Regions from separate parts of the Homo sapiens genome. Here region 2 is linked to region 1. Evidence: promoter capture Hi-C in human tissues and cell types (Jung and others, 2019). All regions are on one chromosome and are shown on one strand. Each heading gives the region's core, a stretch centred on a gene start or on the middle of the fragment in contact. The rest is flanking DNA. Distances are from core to core; before and after follow the strand shown. Region 1 holds the start of ARG1 (arginase 1). Region 2 overlaps AKAP7 (A-kinase anchoring protein 7).

Region 1 (4,658 bases), core at 832-3,331:
AGACATGACAGCCAAGAGATAATGTGCTTTACTTGGATTAAAGGGTGGTGACCAATGGTTCATATGACAGGAAGGCAATCTCAGCTTGGCATACAAAGAACTTTCAGGATGTGAATTTTTCAAAGAAAAAATTCTAGCAATCAAATTTGAAAGTTAGCAAATCTCCATGGATTGATTTATAAATCTAGTAAAAATTCTAGCAAATACTTTTAAGGAATTAGGTTATTCCAACTATAGGAGAATAGAGACCCATAAAAGGTAAATCAATTTTGAAAAAGAAGAGCAAAACAGTTACTCTTGCCTAAACAATGATAAGATGTACCGCAAAACTGTATTGATAAAACCTGATGGATCTGGTGCAGCCATAGGTAAATAAGTCAATGGAACAGAAGAAAGAGTTTAGTGACAGACAGCACTCCAATCAATTGCAAAATGAATGACTATTCAATGGGTGTTGTTGAGGAAACTGATGCATGAATGATAGAGGAAAAACGAGTTGGAAAATTTACATAACATACAAAGATGGATTCAGGAACTAAGTGAGAAAGATAAGCTCTAAGGCAAATGGAAGAAAATGTAAAACTACATACCTACAATTTGATGGGGTGGCAGGAATTTAATAAGACTTCCAAAGCACAAAGCATTCGGGGGAAATTATACAAGTGTCTATTTTAAAATTGAGGATTTTGAGTGATAACATATAAAAAGTTATCAGATTTCTGACAGGTTGGGAAAAGTTATTTGCAATGTCAATGCTATAAGGTTAATATCTAGGCAATATGAGGAATACCACAAGTAAATATTTAGGATATACAAGCAAACCCACAAGAAAAAGGTAGGAAACCTATTTGGAAAACAGTCCTATCAAAATGGACCCATGAGACTTTGGTTTCCTCATTTATCCATTCAATAAATATTTATTGAGTGCCTATTATACACCAACACTCTTCTAGGCCCTGGGGATACAGCAGACAAAATTCTCTGACCTCATGGAATTTAAATTCCAAAATGTTCTTTCCCACCAATAGGAAAAAGAAATTAGTTTCTACTAAGTGAATTTTCCCTTTAAATTACAATTACATAATTTTAAAGTCGGAAGGATCTTTAAGGTGCCTTTATTTTAAATTCATACTTTTGTATGGTGACAAATGGTAGCTCAGGGGCATAGAGGTTGACACCTTCCCAGCATTTAGACTATAAGCTCGACGGTTAAGTGGATTCAGAATGGCAGAGACTAAATCCCGACTTTTCTTCTACAGCCTATGTTGGCAACGGGTCTGAGCTTCAGTTTATTCATCAGTATAATGGCACCAATGATGAGACTTCACATAAAATTGGTATAAATATAAATATGGTATTTTGAAACAGAACTGCATCGGACACATGGTAAAAACTCAATGTTAGCTATTTTTATTTCTATACTTTGATTATGATATGATTCTACAATTATTTTCCTGTACACCATACTTCAAAAATGGTAACCTCTCTGGGTTACCAATCAAGTAACTAATTTTTTAAAGTAATCATCAAAAAAGGAAGTTATATACTCTTTATTATATTATACCCTAAAAGTTTATGAAATGTGTCTCATGGATTAACCATTTACCCTCATGTGTGAAATCTCAACTCAGGATTTTAGGGCTGGAAGGGATGTGACAGACGATCTTGCCAAGCCCGGCCCTTCTTCTACAAGGACGTCTTCAGAGATCTGGAGGAGGAAAGGGCCTTGCCCTGAGTTCGCTGAGCCAGAACAATAGGACTTCTTCTGTAGTTGTGAAACTTGTCAGTTGTTGAAGTCAGGTTAATGTCATCTGGCTGGCTTTTTAAAAGGGTGTGAAGTGAGAACATGAATAATTGTCACTTGATTAGAGACCTAGACTCAGAGTTAGGTTACTCCATGTATGAAGTAACCCCATATAGTTACTTCATACATGGAGTAACCATATAGTTACTCCATGTATGAAAAATTGCAAGACTGTTGACTGTCATTCTTTGGTTTAGTGGGTGGAGCCAGCTGTCCTCATTAGATAAAGGTTGTTTATTCAACCCAAGTATAAATGGAAAAAAAAGATGCGCCCTCTGTCACTGAGGGTTGACTGACTGGAGAGCTCAAGTGCAGCAAAGAGAAGTGTCAGAGCATGAGCGCCAAGTCCAGAACCATAGGGATTATTGGAGCTCCTTTCTCAAAGGGACAGGTAAGGAAAAAAGTCTTTCTTTGAATTCCTGGAATTTAGTTGAAAATTTTGGACTTCAAAATTTGTAAGGTGTTATTGTCTAGTTAGTTCAGTTTTCTGATACAATCTGGCCAGGAAATGCATATTTTAAAGTCCTCTCACCATTTTCCAACATTGTATAATTATAGTCACATATCCACTTACTTTTGTGGCTCGTGATCTCAGCCAAGGCTAAATTCATTTGAACCTACAGAATGTTTTCTCATATTTTTTAGGAGAAAATATTTTTCTTTGAATTGAAATGGACTCTTTCTGCATTGTAGCTACTCATTGAGGTTTAGTTGCTCTTGTTGTTTTTGATGTTACTGTGTGTATGTAGAGGAAGAGAGAATTTTAAGAAATACATTTGTTTAGTTATGTAATTAATGCCTAGAAAAATTTAATAGTTTGGTGGTAACCTTCAGGCTTCTTATAATTTGGATAACCTAAATATTATTGTTTCATGCAACTTTGTGAATAATTCATGTTATGTTAGGGTTTTAATGTTTCTATGAAACTGTTCATTCATGGACTAGGTAGAATCCTTTATGTGCCTCACTTGGAAGGGGAAAAAAAGAACAAAAAAAGAAAGAAAATCCTACTGCGGGTTGGCAACTCTAAAAGGATTTTAATGGATTTATGAAACCCCCAGATTTCCTTACAGCCACGAGCTGTGAATCCACACATGCCAGCAACATTGAATACACTTTTTTTTCTGCCTGGGCACACTTATTCTAGTAAAGAGAGTGTGATGACAGAACACCTTAGACTTCAACACGCATCTGTGCTTAAAGAGGATAAAAAACAAAGAACAAAATCAAACAAGACAATGTATGAGTTGAAACTACTAAGGTTGATTTTCTCCAGGTTTCTCAGGATCTGGGCAGCGTTTTGCTTCCTCTTAATTTGGAACCCTTGCTGTGTACTCTGACTTTTTACTGCAAAACAAATTGAGAGAGGCCAGAGGTTAGAGGCCCAAACTGCATTTGGACTGTCAGTAAATACTACTTTGCTTCCCCTGGAAATCCTCCAAAAGTCTCTCCCAAACACAGGGACATTTTGCTGACACAGAAATGTTCCTTTTAAAATCCACACTGTTCTCACCCACTCTTGAACAGGTTATAATAAATATATAATTTAAAAACCTCACAAAAGGGAAGCAAGTGTCCTCCTTCTACCACCCTCCTCCCATTAAAACATGGTCATGAGAATGGAGTTCATTGTCTCATGATTGTAAGGACTAAGAGAGAGAGATTTTTTACACTAAGTCATAGAGTAGAGAGGATAAAATGGCCAACATATAAGTATTTGTCCTCACCTAAAGGAGGTACAAGTTTGACAAATAAGCAAAAGGAAAGGATTAGAGGGCAGATGACTAAAATGTTGAGTCTGAGAAAGGGCTTCATCCCTGTCTCACCTCCTTGAAAGGCTTGCAAGGCAGCGAACAAACAATAAGGTAGGTATTATTTTTACCTTACAGTTGGGTTAAAAAAAAGCCCAGAGAGGTTTGGTAATGTGCTCAACGTCACACAGCCTTGACTGCATAATTCCAGACAAGATAATCTGATTCCAATGCCTATGCCCTTGATTTGCACTGATGTCTCTTCAGACTATTCAACTCCAAAGGCGACCTTATACTTGTGGCCATTTAGGGATTGGGCCCAGCTTAGAAAGTCGGTGGAGCTGACAAAGCAATTTCCAAAGTGGGCAGATAGAGCAAGCAAGAGGAAAGCCCAATCATGAGAAGCCATTTGAATAAAACAAATAAAAAAGAATTCTAGAAAATTTAATGGCTGTGTTATAGCAAATATAGTGTCAACTAAGGGGTCTATGAGCTTTGTTCTAAAATATGAAAGGGAGAAGGGTAAAAAAGCCAAGGAGTTTTATCAAACTGAGTATTGAGTATCTACTATATGTCAGCTCTACACTACAAAATATAGTGCCCCACATGTAAAGCAAGCTGGACTGAAATCTAACAATGAGGAAAAGACAAAAACAGACACAAAACTAAAGGCAAAACATGAACCAAGCAGCACCCTATTGGGGTTGAAAGAAGGAGAAATCATGTTTACTTGATTGGGGAGAGGCAGGTGTGTCAAGCAAAAAGGGAGTAAAGAAGCAAAATGTGTCAGGCAGAGGATAGGGCGGGTCCCTTGCTGCCAGGGACAGGAATTTAACATCAAGGATTTGCCTGGCACCCAGGGCAAGTCTTCTGTTCCTTTGAATGGGGAAAAAATACTTGCTTACTTTGATGCCACAGCCCCAATCCTAAAGATAGACACACGTGTCTTTTAACACATTGTCTCATCTGACAACATGTAATAATCTTCTGCATCTAAAAGCTCTGTTGGAAATTAAAATCAGAAAGATACAGAAAGGAACTGTGCCTTTAGACCTCTAATTGTTCAGGGGACTGAGGAAGACTTGCCCCTTGGAGGAAGAGTG
Region 2 (4,658 bases), core at 659-3,158, 330 kb before region 1:
CAAAATTTAGAAGGATAAAGTGGTTTTTCTCTTTCTTTATGCTTCATCATTTAATGTCCTCTTTTCTCTCCTCTCTTTTGAATACAAGATATTTACCATGTTTTTCCTTCTCATGTGTCTCTGCAAGTTGTCAGACTCAAATTTCCTTTAATTAGTGAGTTGGAAGCCTCAGAAGATTGGGAATTTGTACAGTTTTGGTAAGAATTGATAATTTGCATAGTTTTGTAGAGTCAGAATCTTACAGCAAGGTTTGCTTTTTATTATGACTCAGACTTTTCCATGAGGTTTCTCAGAAGTCCAAATATATATATATATATATATATATGTTCAGTTATAGGTAGAAAAAGATGCTAACCAACAGAGAATAGAGCTTTTGGTCATAGTTAAGAATTATCTTTTTCCATTAGAGACAATAATCAGAGCTGACAGTTAAAGTACATGGACAAGAGGCAGCTGCCACCCACCTCATACTTTTTAGTTTTATTGCTGCCATTTTAAACAATTGTAATAAAAAGCCCAAAATATGATAGCAAATATAGGCAACTGTCCTAACCGTGATTGGTCTGTAGCCAGGCCTGGGAGAAAAGAAAGCATGGAAAGGTTATGGTTTTAAGTTTATGAACATAGTATCATATCAGATATTTTTCCTCATCAAGGTTAACCTTCTTTTTTAAATCTTACAGTAGACCTCCATATGCTACTGAGAAGAGTGTTAATTCCCTAATAAAAGGTCATGAATATTGTCAGGGATTATGTTTGTGAATGGTCCAAGTTGCTATTTTTCCTGGAAGATGAATGTGTTCAGGGGCCATTCTGCTATTTCTGTGCTCTTAATTGAGTCGTTTTTCCAAGATGTGGCAGGCAACAGTGCTAGGCTCCAGCCCCAAAAAGGGTCTATCTTTAGGTCCTTTGTTTTGAAATAGGATTATATTACTCTAGCAGCATTAGTAAAGGGATTTGATGGCAAAACATGAGGAACCAAGGCAAGATTTTGATAGAGCTTGGTTAAATAACATTTTTCTGCATAATATTTTGAAATTGTGGTATGCTGTTTCATATTGTATATAGCTGAGTCTACACACAAATTGTGTTTAATAATACAGAACTCTGGATCAAATGCTTAGGGTTTGTAGAGCCAGACAGATTGAGTTCAGATCCCCTTATTGTCAATACTCTCCAAAAGATTTCACCCAAGTTACTTTGCTGAGCTTACGTTTTTCACCTGTAAAATGGGGATAGTAATACCACCATCTTCAGAGAGCTGTCTTAGAGATTAAATGAATGAGTAAACTCAAGTGCCTGGTGTTATGTGTCCAGTAAATGTTAGGTTTTAGAATTCTTATCTTGAATTTCTCCATTGTTTTCTATCTTTCATTATGGTTAATTCACTTAATGCTTATGAAAAAGCCTCTAACATTATCTAGCTCCCCTTCATTCATGCAGAATATCTTGATAGTTAATGACACATTTCATATGTATATATATATATATATATATATATATATATATATATATATATATGTTTTTTTTTTCTTTTTTTTTTTTTTTCCGAGATGGAGTCTCTCTCTGTCACCCAGGCTGGAGTGCAGTGGCATGATCTCAGCTCACTGCAACCTCCACCTCCCAGGCTCAAGTGATTCTTCTGCCTCAGCCTCCCGAGTAGCTGGGACTACAGGCGTGCACCACCATGCCTGGTTAATTTTTGTATTTTTAATAGAGGCGGGGTTTCACTATGTTAGGCTGGTCTTGAACTCCTGATCTCGTGATCCACCCACCTTGGCCTCCTGAAGTGCTGGGATTACAGGCATGAGCCACCGCGCCTGGCCATATTTTATTTCTTTTATAGAGACAGGGTCTCACTCGGTCACTCCTGCACTCAGGCTGGAGTACAGTGGTATGATCATAGCTCACTATAACCTTGAACTCCTGGGCTCAAGCAATCCTCCTGCTTCAGCCTCCTGAGTAGCTAGGACTAAGGCATGTGCCACTATGCCCAGCTAATTTTTAAAATTTTTTTGTAGAGATGGGGTCTCACTGTGTTACCCAGGCTGGTCTCGCAGTCTTGGCCTGAAGTGATTCTCTCACCTTGGCCCCCCAAAGTGCTGGCATTATAGGCATGAGCCATGGTGCCTGTCCCTATTCTTAATTGCACATTTTCAGAAGCAGTGCCAACAGGGAATGGTTAATAATAAAGTTAAGTTGGTAGGATTTATTGCACGAACATTATCCTCCTGGGCTCTGAGTTTGAGTAGAGGGCCTTTTTGTTTGGAGGCCAGATATATAAGCATTAACTCAAGATGGCAGCTAGTAGGGCACAAAATTGGAAGAGCAGGAGGCAAGATTACTACCTGGTGCTAGAAAGACTGAGGTGCATATAAATACAGCCATCAGACAATCTGTTCTCTTCTTCCCCTCCCCATCAAATACTATTTTGCAATGCAAATTAAAAGCTTTATAATGAACTTACCTGAATTACAGATAAAGATATCAAAACTCTGACCAGGAGGCATGAGTTTCATAACTGTTAATACCTGACATCTGGGATTTAAACCCATGGTTTCCTGACTCTAAAGGTTTTATCACTATACTGATGCTGGTGATTGGGAAATGCCAGGAGTTACTAATTTTCCTCAGTGAAGAACGTTCCCTGCAAATACATCTTCACTGAACACAAAAAGTAATGTTTAGGATAATTGTTCACTGGTTGTTAGGCTATTTCCTTTGTTATTTTGATCACAAAATCATATAATGCTAGTACTGTAGAGGATCCTAATATGCCTACTGCCTTATTTTTGGGTGAAGAAACTGAGGTCCAGAGAGGACCAAGGGCTTCTCTGGTGTTTCCTAGCTGGGTAGTGGCAGTGTTAAGGCTGGGAAGAACCACATTCTGTGTCACGTCTCCAGTGTTCAAAATTTGCTGTAGGTTCTGATGTTTCCATTTTTAGGGTTACAGGCCATTTATTTGCTTTCTGGTCTTAATAAGGTTTATATTATTGCTTTTAGGACTATTTTACATTTATATACAAAATCATTTTATATTTTAAAACATACACCTGTATTCACTCATGTATTGGTGAATTTGGGGGAATACTGGAAGAGTTTAAAGTTGCTGTTTATTTATAAGTCACTAAGCTGTGAAGAAACCCAACTGGTTATAAAAGTGGAATTTTACTTAAAATTATAATGTTCATTGTATGATAGAATGGAGTGTCCTCTTTAAACCAAGGTAAAATAAGCATCTTTACATTTTAAATAGTCTGAAAAAGTGAAAGCAATTTAAAGACATGTAATTCTCTAAACATTAATTTTAATTATGTGGATAGACCTGCCAGTTTAATCAGTCAGATCTTTGCTTTTTATTCCATAGATCTTCACAATATTTCTAATGTGGAAGTCAAAGTGCATATTAATGTACCTGTGACATATAAAAACAACTGTGTTCCTTGATAACACTCTCAAATACTCTTTGATATTTGCATCAAAATTATCAAAATTCTATCTTTCAGAAAAAAAGCATTGAAAACAGATACTAGTGTTTGCCAGCATCTTCACTGTTTTTTTTAATGCGACAAATATAATTTGTAAAATTGACAATTTTCATTTTTCCATGCTGCAGGCTCTTTTTGTTTGGATGATCATGAAAGTAGGTGGACTATGTTCAGAACCACTTGAGGTGTTCAGCATCATCCTGTTCCCTCTCCTTCTAATCCATGGGAAATAGGTGTGCCTAGCTAGTAAATAGAGGAGTAAGAAAGAATCAGGGTGGAATTTCTGGCACTATGAACAATTTTTCTTTCCTAGAGTGTCATAAACTAAGGCTATTCCCTCTATAAGATAACAGATTTTGAACAATTACATGAAATCTGTTATTTCATGTAATAGAGTTCAAAATATAGCCTTTCTTAAAATTAGTTGTTTTGCTGCCCCTGAATTTGCTCAATCACCTTGTGGCTTCATTCAGAAAGATGCCCTAATCTTTTGTCTTTTTGTCAGTGATGCATCTATATTTGGGTAATTTTCTAGGCTGTTGACATATTTGATGGTATAATTTCAAAATTAATATTATTGATTACTGCTTTACTAGGGGAATAAGGCAATATATCAGAAAGCAGGAATTTAAAAGATATGCCGTACCGTACAGATAACAGTCGATAGCCTCTTTCCCCACACTTAGCCTATCATTTCTATTGTTCATGCAGTTTGCTAGGTAGTTAATGGTACTTCATACAAGTTGTGATTCCAGTGTTCTGCTATGTTGGGTTTTCTATTCATAAACCACAATCTCCTAGGGATAAAAGAAGGCTCTTCCTCTTTAAGTAGCAGACAGAAAATATGGTTTTTTTGGGGGTTTGAATTTTCATGTGTAATTACTGCAGTTGTCTGTAGGAGAAAGGGCTCATTGTGGTTTTTCTCGACTACCTTTCTTAAAGACATATGCAAATAGCCAGACAGAACACATGGCACTGACCTATGGCCAGGGACTCACAGTTTTGTGAGAATACGGGAGCGTATAGCCACTTCCTTCACTGAATGCCAGTCCCAGAGCAGTTGCATTAGGCTGGAGGACTGGAGGTGGAGCCTTTTTTGCTCACGGCAGCAAGTTCCCTTCTCCTTTCTCTCCCCCGGCGGCGTGTGCATTGGCTCTTCAAGCTGCCTGT

Evidence for each region. The method cuts DNA at HindIII sites, captures the fragments that hold promoters and counts their contacts. A contact is called where the count stands out against the background at its distance.
Region 2: a contact is called between a fragment that was not itself captured here and the fragment with the promoter of ARG1 in region 1, in 4 of the 25 tissues and cell types used here (H1 embryonic stem cells, dorsolateral prefrontal cortex, hippocampus and 1 more).

What each region holds. Positions count from the first base shown.
Region 1 is chr6:131,571,145-131,575,802 of GRCh38, forward strand. It overlaps ARG1 (arginase 1), which reads left to right and starts at 2,082. Exons shown (of 8, transcript NM_000045.4): 1 at 2,082-2,195. The coding sequence starts at 2,139. It also overlaps a transcript of MED23 not described here. RefSeq lists an enhancer at 1,548-2,049. The HindIII fragment of the contact is 11,485 bases long and covers 1-4,658 here.
Region 2 is chr6:131,245,794-131,250,451 of GRCh38, forward strand. The region is part of intron 7 of AKAP7 (A-kinase anchoring protein 7); the gene reads left to right. Among named protein-coding and RNA genes, the nearest start is that of AKAP7, 110 kb to the left of the region's middle. The HindIII fragment of the contact is 9,498 bases long and covers 1-4,658 here.